Linked DNA regions of Homo sapiens: all the other regions are linked to region 1. Evidence: promoter capture Hi-C in 16 types of primary human blood cells and fetal thymus (Javierre and others, 2016). All regions are on one chromosome and are shown on one strand. The core of a region is centred on a gene start or on the middle of the fragment in contact, and the rest is flanking DNA. Distances in the headings are between cores, read along the strand shown. Region 1 holds the start of API5 (apoptosis inhibitor 5). Region 2 overlaps TTC17 (tetratricopeptide repeat domain 17). Region 3 overlaps TTC17 (tetratricopeptide repeat domain 17). Region 4 overlaps TTC17 (tetratricopeptide repeat domain 17).

The links. Contacts are between HindIII fragments. The CHiCAGO score rates a contact against its expected background, and 5 or more counts as called.
Region 2: a contact is called between a fragment that was not itself captured here and the fragment with the promoter of API5 in region 1, in 1 of 17 cell types (M2 macrophages). The highest score is 6.7, in M2 macrophages.
Region 3: a fragment that was not itself captured here is called in contact with the fragment with the promoter of API5 in region 1 in 1 of 17 cell types (M2 macrophages); the score reaches 5.8 in M2 macrophages.
Region 4: a contact is called between a fragment that was not itself captured here and the fragment with the promoter of API5 in region 1, in 1 of 17 cell types (M2 macrophages). The highest score is 13.6, in M2 macrophages.

Annotation. Positions count from the first base shown.
Region 1 is chr11:43,310,612-43,313,294 of GRCh38, reverse strand. It overlaps API5 (apoptosis inhibitor 5), which reads right to left and starts at 1,299. Exons shown (of 14, transcript NM_001142930.2): 1 at 1,099-1,299. The coding sequence starts at 1,167. RefSeq lists an enhancer at 771-1,546. The HindIII fragment of the contact is 11,672 bases long and covers 1-1,474 here.
Region 2 is chr11:43,477,641-43,480,323 of GRCh38, reverse strand. The region is part of intron 21 of TTC17 (tetratricopeptide repeat domain 17); the gene reads right to left. Among named protein-coding and RNA genes, the nearest start is that of MIR670, 81 kb to the left of the region's middle. The HindIII fragment of the contact is 1,050 bases long and covers 862-1,911 here.
Region 3 is chr11:43,460,748-43,463,430 of GRCh38, reverse strand. The region is part of intron 21 of TTC17 (tetratricopeptide repeat domain 17); the gene reads right to left. Among named protein-coding and RNA genes, the nearest start is that of MIR670, 98 kb to the left of the region's middle. The HindIII fragment of the contact is 5,243 bases long and covers 1-2,683 here.
Region 4 is chr11:43,440,798-43,443,480 of GRCh38, reverse strand. TTC17 (tetratricopeptide repeat domain 17) reads right to left here. Exons shown (of 24, transcript NM_018259.6): 17 at 1-156. Among named protein-coding and RNA genes, the nearest start is that of TTC17, 83 kb to the right of the region's middle. The HindIII fragment of the contact is 890 bases long and covers 876-1,765 here.

The DNA of each region.
Region 1 (2,683 bases), core at 50-2,549:
TGTATGGATAATTCAACACTGCTGAGAAACTGTGTATCGGGGGCAAGCATCGTTAAGAGAGCTCTTCCAGACAACTCCATTCAGAGCTGCGCACTCACACTCTCCTTCGCCCAGCCCTGTTTTATTTTCTTCAAACATGTTTCATTAAAAAGAATAAATTTTTAAAAAAAACCTTTTTTTTTTTTTTTGAGACGGGGTCTTGCTTTGTCTCCCAGGCTGGAGTGCAGTGAAGCGATCTCGGCTCACCGCAACCTCTGCCTCCCGGGTTCAAGCAATCCTCCCACCTCAGCCTCCTGAGTAGCTAGGATTACAAGCGCGTGTCACCACGCCCGGCTAATTTTTGTATTTTTAGTAGAGACAGGGTTTCACCATGTGGGTCAGGCTGGTCTCGAACTCCTGACCTCGTGATCCGCCCGCCTCGGCCTCCCAAAGTGCTCGGATTACAGGCGTGAGCCACCAAGCCGGGCCTCACAATGCCTATCTTTCTTACTACACTCCCTCCTAACTGTACATTCTGGGAGAGCGCGGACCTTTCCATCTGTATCTCCAGCGCTCGGCACTCAAAAAAATGCACTGAATAAATGAAACCGTGAGCTCTCATCAAAGTCTGGACCAAAGAGTCCCTCTTCTGTTTCTCACAAACTTCTGTCTCCTAAACACTCTTCTTCAATTAGTAGCAGAATTTTGCCTCCCCCCCAAAAAAAACACATCTTGACCTCATGAAGAAAACTCCCGATCTAATCTTGGAAGCACTGAGCTCCACCGAAAAGGAGAAAGGCTTAAGAGAATCCTGTAGAGAAAAGCTCCGTGAGAAGAATTAACGTGAGCCTGAACGGGCTGAGTTAGGTTACGCCACGGTGAGAAAAGGCTGGGCAAGGGAGGCAAGGAAGCCTGGAACCCTGGGGACCGCGGTCTCCCTGGTGAAACCAGAGTCTACACTCCCAGAGAGGCCCACCCCGACGAGACGGCCTGAGGAGGCTAGGAGGCCCCGGGAGGATGAAGCCGCAGCCCCCGCTCGGCCCGGGGAGTGCGGCGGGAAGCGCTTTCGAAAGGCCGCGGAGCGCCAGGCCCTGCAGGCCGCCCGGGGACTCAACTCACCTGGCCCACTTGCTCCGTGGCATCGGCCAGGATGCCATAATTGCGGTAAAGCTCCTCTACTGTCGGCATGGTGAGCGACAAGCCCAGGGCCCGGTTCCGCTATCCTTGTCCTGACCGGCGCCACCGCCGCCTCGGAACTTCTCCAAACCCACTACCCGCACTATTACACCTCCAGCTGCCGCCAGTGCAGCCGCCAGTCACCGCGCACAGCGCGGCTGCGCCCCCGACGTCTACGTAAAGACGCGCACGTCGGGAGCGGCCTTCAGTAGACACCCCCCACCCCAATGCGCCTCCGCGGTTTTTGTCGCCCTCTACAGCCTGGAGGAGCAAAAAAGCGGCAAGGATGATTGAATTAGCTCACGCCTTTTTGAAAGCTTGAGCTTGGCTGCAGGCTCTCCATGGAAGGGGTGTGGGTGGGCGGGGAAGTGAATACAAAGACAATTGCGTTTCTGCCCTTAGAAGATCTTACATATGAGAAGTCACAAATGGTTTCCTCCTGATTCAAGGAAGGTAATATTAATCGGTGGCACTAGAGGCTAGTGGGTCCGGTGGGAAGCAAAAAACATTCCTATGCTATTAAAAAACCCTCTGTGTCCACCACGCTCATCAAGTGCGGGGTCAAATTTGGCCTGCTGGAAGAATTTGCTTATCTTTGCTGCCAGTGTAAAGAATTGGGGCCACCTGATTATGTCCAGTATCCAAAAGAATAATAAATAAATGAAATCACGTACGCTTACTGATAAGAATTTCTAAGATACAAGTTTAAATGAAATTATATATATAATATGATATAATATATAATATTTTATATATTATATAATATATAACATTATATATTAATATATAATAATTTTATATATTATATAATATATAATATTATATATTAATATATAATATTATATATTATATAATATATAACATTATATATTAATATATAAATATATAATATATAATATAAATATAATAATATTATATTAATATATAAATATATAATATATAATATAAATATAATAATATTATATTAATATATATTAAGATAATAATATTAATTAATACATTAATTATATAATATAATTATAATATATCTATATATTGAGATATAATATTAATTAATATATCAATATTATCAATTATATATTATAATTATCTTATATTATATATAATATATTAATTATATAATTAATATATTAATATTATTATCTTAATATATATTAATATATTATTATATTTATATATCATATATAATATTATGATATTAATATTATAATATATATTATATATTATATTATATATACAATTATATATATAATATATATTATATATTGTATATTATTATATAATTATATATTAAGATAATAATATATATTAAGATAATAATATATTATATATATTAAGATAATAATATATATTATATATATTAAGATAATAATATATATTTATATATTAAGATAATTATATTTATATAATAATATTATATATATATATAGCCGTGTGCGGTGGCTAACGCCTGTAATCTCAGCACTTTGGAAGGCTGAGTTGGGTGGATCACTTGAGGTCAGGAGTTCAAGATCAGCCTGGTCAACAT
Region 2 (2,683 bases), core at 137-2,636, 170 kb before region 1:
GATCTGTCCTTTCTTTCTGTCTCCATGAGGGCAGAGATCTTTTGAGTTGTTTTTCACTGATTTATCCCAACCATTTAAAAAGTAAATGGCATATAGTAAGCTTCTACTAACCATTTGCTGAATGAATGAATAAATGAATGAGTGAATGAATACATGGCTACTGTGATACTTATTGAGCTATTGTCTTTCAGGTCCAAATCTGCTTTGCGATAACTGCTGGCACTCTGCAAACCACATTTCTCCTTTGTTAACAGGCTTCTTGTTAGGTTCAGCAAACATGTGCACTAGAAGATTGGAAGGCAAGAGGGAGAAGGGACTTCTTTCTTCCTATTTGCATGCTGCTCCTGTCAGTGTTATTCCAGCAACAGCACTCTAGTCTCCAGGTTCTTTAAGCACTCCCAGACCCAGGCTCACTGCACCCTTCTGCCACAAGGCTGTCCCTCTCTGTGGAAGCAAGAGCTCCAGCTCCTCAGTTTCTCCTGTAAACTTCTAAATTCTGAAAACCCTAATCACTTGCTGCCCTTTTCCACACCTAGAGGTGGGAGCTGTTCCCTACAGTTATCTTTAGTTTACTTCCTTGTTTCCTTTTTCTCTTTCAGCCCTCTACAACGTCATCAATTCTCTAAATCAAATTTGCTTTTCTGAAATACCTAGTGTTATTTCTGTTTTCCTGACAGTACCCTGACTGAAATGGATGCTTTAAGATACCTTTGCCTTTGCTATTTTGTAGTTCTACTATAATGTATGTAGGTATGGATTTCTTTTTACTTTTCCAGCTTGGAATACATGGTACTTCCTAAGTCTGTTGATTCATTTGTCTCCTTGTCTCTATAATATTTCAGGTAAATTTTTTACAAAGCTTGCAATTCACTATTTAATTATGTCTAATTCATGTAACCCATCAACTGAATATCTGACTTACACAATTTATTTTAGTTTAAGATGGCTAATTTGCTTTTTAAATTTACCTACTCATTTCTGATGCTATTTGTTTCTCATCTTTGTAATCACATCATTTAAATGTTTTATAATGAAAAATTTCAAGTATATACAAAAATAAAGGAACTTTTTTTTTTCTTTTTTTGAGATGGAGTCTCGCTCTGTCACCCAGGCTGGAGTGCAGTGGCGTGATCTTGGCTCACTGCAACCTCTGCCTCCCGGGTTCAAGCTATTCTCCTGCCTCAGCCTCCAGAGTAGCTGGGATTACAGGTGTGAGCCATCACACCTTGCTAATTTTTTGTATTCTTAGTAGAGACAGGGTTTCACCATGTTGACCAGGCTAGTCTCGAACTCCTGACTTGGTGATCCACCTGCTTCAGCCTCCCAAAGCACTGGGAATACAGGCGTGAGCCACCACGCCCGGCCTGGAACTACTCTTTTAAAAGCTGCACTCCTGGCTGGGTGCGGTGGCTCACACCTTGTTATCTCAGTAATTTGGGAAGCCAAGGTGGGAGGATTGCTTGAGGCCAGGAGTTTGAGACCAGTCTGGGCAACATAGCGAGACTACATTTTTATGAAAAAAATTTAAAAATTAGCTTGGCATGGTCCGTGCCTGTCGTCCTAACTACTTTGGGGGTTGCGGGATGGGGCAGGGAGGATGAGGCAGGAGAATCACTTGAGCACAGGAGTTTGAGGCTGCAGCGAGCTAAGACTGTGTCACTGCACTCTCGCCTGGGTGACAGATGGAGACCCTGTCACTTTAAATTACATAAATAAATAAATAAAACAATATAATGAACCCTCATGTGCTCATCATTCAGCTTCAACACTTATCAACTCATGGCCATGTTGTTTCATCTATACCCTCATCCATGTTAATGTGAAGCAAATTCCAGATTTCATACAATTTCATGGGTAAATTCTTTAGTGTGTGCCTCTAAAAGATAAAAACTCATGTTTAGAACATAAGCTTATGTACATTATGCCTAAAGAAGTGAAAATGATTCTTTAATATCATCAAGTATTCAGTTGGTTGTTCCTATGTACCCCAAGTGTCTTACAGAAGTTTCATTTTGCTTTTACAGTTTGAATCACAATCTAAATGAGCGCCATACATTTTAATTGGCTGCTTTCTCCTTAAATCTGTTGTGATCTCTGGGGTCCATCTTCATTAGTTTTTTCTTTACAAATTTATTTTTGTAGAAGAAATAGGGTTATCTGTCCTGTTGGTTTCCAGCATTAGACTCTGATATTGCATCCTCATGGTACCATTTAACATGCTCCTTTGTTCCCTGTTATTTCTCACAAATTGTAATTACAGAAGTGACTGGTTTAGATTTAACTTTTGGGGGAAGAGTGGGACAAAACTACTTTATAGGTGTGTACTTCTAATGATACACACATACTGTCTGGGTGTCTCAGATGTTAGCAGCAAGTGATGATCACTGCTGATATTCATTAAGGGCTACAAAACTGTAATATACTGATGTTATTATCACTTTCAGTTTATTAATCGTAATATTCCTAGAGAGACTTTCCCTCATCAATTGCTTATCCCCCAAAAAAAATTAATTTAGAAAAGGAAGGACACATGCTTTTTACTTTTAATTATATCTACATTGAAAAAAAACTATTCCCATGTGATATGGTTTGGCTGTGTCCCCACCCACATCTCGAATTGTATTTCCCAGAATTCCCACGTGTTGTGGGAAGGACCCAGGAGGAAGTAATTGAATCATGGGGG
Region 3 (2,683 bases), core at 73-2,572, 150 kb before region 1:
TGTATGATATTTTTATTTTGTATGCTATTTTTATTTTGTAAGCTATTTTTATTTTGTATGATTTCTGGCTTAATCTGTATTGGTCAATATCCATTTCCATGCTAAGAAATTTAAATCTTTGGAAATTTGTTAAGGCCTTTTTTATGGCTCAGTCATATGTTAAGTGTTCACATATGATAAATGTTCCTTCCTTGTGCATGTAAAAGAATGAATTTTGGGCCGGGCACGGTGGCTTACAGCTGTAATCCCAGCAATTTGTGAGGCTGAGGCGGGTGGATCATGAGGTCAGGAGTTTGAGACCAGCCTGGCCAATATGGTGAAACCCCGTCTCTATTAAAACATACAAAAATTCCTGGGTGTGGTGGCGCACGCCTGTAGTCCCAGCTACTTGGGAGGCTGAGGCAGGAGAATCACTTGAACCTGGGAGGCAGAGGTTGCAGTGAGCCAAGATAGCACCACTGCACTTCAGCCTGGGCAATAGAGTGAGACTCTGTCTCAAAAAAAAAAAAGAATTTTGTCACTGCTGGATTCAGTGCTTACATATGGCAGCTAGGTTCAGTTTGTAATTGTGGTGTTTTTGGTCTGCTACAATAATAACTGCTATCAGTTATTATAATTTTATTCAAATCTACTTTGATTGGGAATATGTCTATTTCTTCTGCCAGTTATGTCAATGTTTACCTTATATATTTTAGATTATGTTCTTTGGTGCATACAGTTTACAGAACATACCTACCTTGTGAATTAAATCTATATTACTTTCCTATAGCTACTGTGACAAATTAACACATACTTGGTGGTTTAAAACAATAAAAATCTATTCCTTCACAGCTCTTAAGGCAGGAGGTCCAAAATCAATATCATTGGGTCAAAGTCAATGTGTCAGCAGGGCTGTGCTCCCTTCAGAGGATCTAGAGAATCTGTTACTTCCCTCTTCTGGTTTCTCGTGGCTGCTGGCATTCCTTGGCTTGTGGCTGCATAACTCTGCCTCTATTGTCACACAGCCTTCTACTCTTCAGGATTAAGTCTCTGTCTCCTTCTTTATAAGAATACATGTGATTGGCTTTAGGACCCAACTGGATAATCCAGGATAATCGCTCCATCTCCAGATCCTCAATTTTATCTGCAAAGTCCTCTTCTTTCCATACTGTGTATGTATATAGTTTTCACAGGTTCCAGGGATTAGAACGTGGATATCTTTGTAGGGGGGCACTATTCAGCCTGCCACAGATCCCTTTAGTGTTATAAAATATTCCACTTTAACTCCAGTAATGCTTCTTATTATAAAGTTTACTTTTTCTGACAAGGGTATAGTTATATAGCCGTTTTTTTTTTTTTTTTAATCTAGCCTACATTTAATTCTTAAGTTACACAGTCTTCCTCCATGTAACTACTGATGTGCTTGGGTCTATATTCGCCATTGTACTATTTGTGCTCTACTTTTATGTACCTTTATCTTCCCTTGACTTCCTTTGGATTAATCAAATGTTCTACATGATTCCATTTTCCTTCTATTAAGTTACATTTAAAAATAATTTTTAGTTGTTAGCCTAGAGTTTAAAACATGCTTTTTTACTTATTAAGGCCAATGCAAATTATTACTTTTACTACTTGGCTGATACCAATTAAGCCTTAGGACTTTTAAACTCTATTTGCTTCCCTCTCATCATTTAAGTTATTGCTACCATGAATTTTAGATATACAGTACATAAAATTGAAACTCCTCAGGGTGTACCATTATTATTTTGTACAGTTACTATTCATTTACATATGTTTCCCAGTGTTCTTCATTCTTTCTTCCAAGTCCATATTTCTATCTTGGATTATTTTCCTGATAAACTTCCTTTACTTTTTCAGTGCAGGCCTACTGGTGCCAAATTGTCTCTGTTTTTGTTTGTTTGAACACATATTTGTTTTGCCTTAATCTTTTAAGAACATTTTGGCTGGTTTAGAATTCTAAGCCTGCAGTTTTCTTATTCTAGCACTTTAAACATGTTGTTACAATGGCTTCTAGTTTTTTTTTTTTTTTTTTTTTTTTTTGAGACGGAGTTTCGCTCTGTCGCCCAGGCCGGACTGCGGACTGCAGTGGCGCAATCTCGGCTCACTGCAAGCTCCGCTTCCCGGGTTCACGCCATTCTCCTGCCTCAGCCTCCCGAGTAGCCGGGACTACAGGCGCCCGCCACTGCGCCCGGCTAATTTTTTGTATTTTTAGTAGAGGCGGGGTTTCACCTTGTTAGCCAGGACGGTCTCAATCTCCTGACCTCCTGATCCACCCGCCTCGGCCTCCCAAAGTGCTGGGATTACAGGCGTGAGCCACCGCGCCCGGCCGGCTTCTAGTTTTTATCATTTCTGTTTAAAAGCTAACAGTCTCATTGTTGCAACTGTGAAGGCAACTGGTGAATTAACGATGGGACACATATTCTTTGTCACTACCATCAGGTAGAGGATATTTTCCCTGCCTGTAATTTTGAGCAGGCCCCGGGACTTGCTTTGAAAGGCAGCATGGATGAAGTAGTGCTGTTTCAGTTTTATGCACAGGCTCTAAGAGGCCTAGCCCAGATGCTTCTGCTTTCACCCTCTTGGAGCCCTCAGTCATCATGTGAAATGGCCCAGGACCCTGCTGGAGAGGGAACTGCAGCTGTGCCAGAGCTAATGCAGCCACCCCAGTTGAGGCCCCAGACAT
Region 4 (2,683 bases), core at 71-2,570, 130 kb before region 1:
CTAGACGCCGCCCTTTCATCTCTAGTGCACCCCCAAAGCCTTCCAAAGGCCATGCCTGTTGAAATTCATCCACCAAAGCCAGTATTTCTTCTGACATTTTGGTTTCATCTGAATTCTCCATCTCATCAGAACCATTGCTCTCCTCAACCACCGTACCTGAAATTCAAGGGCCAGCACGTTAGTAAAAGGTACACAGTACTCATTCAAGACCTTGGGTGACTCCAACCCTGCTTTTGGAGAAACGTTTTGGCTCTGCTTAGAGGCACTACTATAGCCCAATGTAATAAAAATTCCATTCAGCATCTTCAAAATACATAATAAAATACCAACTTTGTCATCTAGCGTTTGCCAAAAGCCTGGCTGAGAACAGTGGCAGCTAGAGAGCAGGCAGTCAGAGATTCTGTTATTAGCGAGCATGGGGACAGGTATGTGATACACTATTTTTTAAAAAAGATCCACTTGCTCTACATTCAAAACATAGATGGCAAGGATGAAGCTTATTATGTTATTTAATATATGGGATTCTTCAAGGTTTATTCAAGTATCTGGACATAGCTGTGTGTCCAGACCATATAGCTGGCTTAATTGCCTTAATTGAAAAATGATTTGTTTAATGGAAAACTATCCTAATTCTACATGAAGGCTCCCATTTTTCACTAAATGGCTGATATAAGAAATAGCAATATACTACAATAATTTCTTTCTAAAATGATTACCAAGATATTATTTAGGTGGCTCAAGTCTCTTACATAAAGACTCCTATGGAAGACTCTCAGTGTAATGGCCTAGCAAAAATTCTCTCTCCTGAGAACTCAGTATGTTTCCTTTATTATCCAATGAAGGTTACACAGCCCTCTTGAGTTCTCCTCTAAGCTTGAATAACAAGGAAGCTCAGGCAAAATTAGCCCGAGTTTCTTAATAGAAGGCTTTCTTTTAAAAAATTCTTCACTACTTAACTTTTCCTGTTTATTTTGAATTGGCTGGATGTTACACTGTGCATTCCATGAAAGTCATCCCTAGTCCCTTTAGGAAGTAGATAGGGTACAAGAACAAATAACAAAATGTCTCCTTTTGTAACATGTACCCACAGGAAAACCTGAGAGCTCTGGGTTGATACCTCACAAAATGCCAGTTTCATTATTCTAGTGCAATAATCTTCAGTTGGTAATTCTGGCTTGTTCAGGGATTTAGAACATGGTATTATAGCCATGCACCACATAATGAAGTTCTGGTCAATGATGAACTGCATATACCATGGTGGTGCCATAAAATTATAATACTGTATTTCCCCTGTACCTTTTCTGCATTTAAATATGTTTAGAGACACAAATATTTACCATTGTGTTACGCTTGCCTACGGTATTGCAGTACATAAACATGCTGTAGAGGTTTGTAGCCTAGGAGCAAGAAGCTACACAATATAACGCGGGAGTGCAGTAGGCTATACCACCTAGCTTTGTGTAAGTAAGTACAGTACACTCTATGATGTTCCCACGACGGCAAAATCACCCAAGGACGCATTTCCTAGAACATATCCCTGTCGTTAAGCAACACATTGGAAAAAATTCATGCTGTTTAGCTACGAAGAGTTCTGCAAACCCAGTAACCCAAGGTGATTGCTTCCTTGTGCTCCTACCATATGGTAATATTTATCGTTATTTAAAAATTCTGAGAGAGAGGGGCTTTCATTAATGGAAACTGATATTCAAATGAAGAGAGAATATGGAGCTTGCTGAAGGCTTCTGTTGCTGGTAGCCATTAAGCTTTTCTAAAGGCTGCTGGGGTTGGGGCGAAAGCAATTCCTAAAAAAACAACACTAAATATGTACATATTTTTATATTTTCTCCTCACAGGTGAAGAATAAGTAGATTATAAGTGTGCTCTGAGTTAGCAAAAAATAAACCAAACTTTATTGACAGCCTACTATATGTCTATCTCTGTAAGCTGTAGGTGGGAACAAAAAAAAATGGAAAGTTTCTAACCTTAAGAAATGAAATATAATGAATTTATAATCAAGTTGGAGACAGACAACTACATACATGAAATAATAAGAGAAAAATTAATTTTTTTTTAGAGGGAAAAAATATTTGCATGTAATCACAAAATGCTTCTTAGAGAAAGGCGGACTACCTGAGACAGGATTTAAACAGATAAGAGTAGAGGGTCAGGGAGGTCACTCCCCATAGGGACTTTTTTTTTTTTTTTGAGATAGAGTCTTGTTCTGTTGCCCAGGCTGGAGCGCAATGCAGTGGTGTGATCTCAGCTCACTTAAACCTCTGCCTCCTGGGATCAAGTGATTCTCCTGCCTCAGCCTCCCAGGTAGCTGGGATTATAGGCGCAGGCCACCACACCTGGCTACTTTTTTTGTATTTTTGTAGAGATGGGGTTTTGCTATGTTGGCCAGGCTGGTCTTGAACTCCTGGTCTCAGGTGATCCGCCCACCTCAGGCTCTCTAAGTGCTTGGATTCAGGTGTGAGCTACTGCATCCAGCCTTCCAGAGTTAACAATTTTTTTTTTTTAAAGCATGTATGCATAGACTCATTTGTCTACACACATACATACAGGGATAGTAAAGGCACATGTGAGGGCATTACCAATTTCAAATTAATTAGAATAAAGAATGTATACAGGGGATAGTAACAAATAAGATACTGAGGAAAAGGTAGGTGATGTTACAAATGTG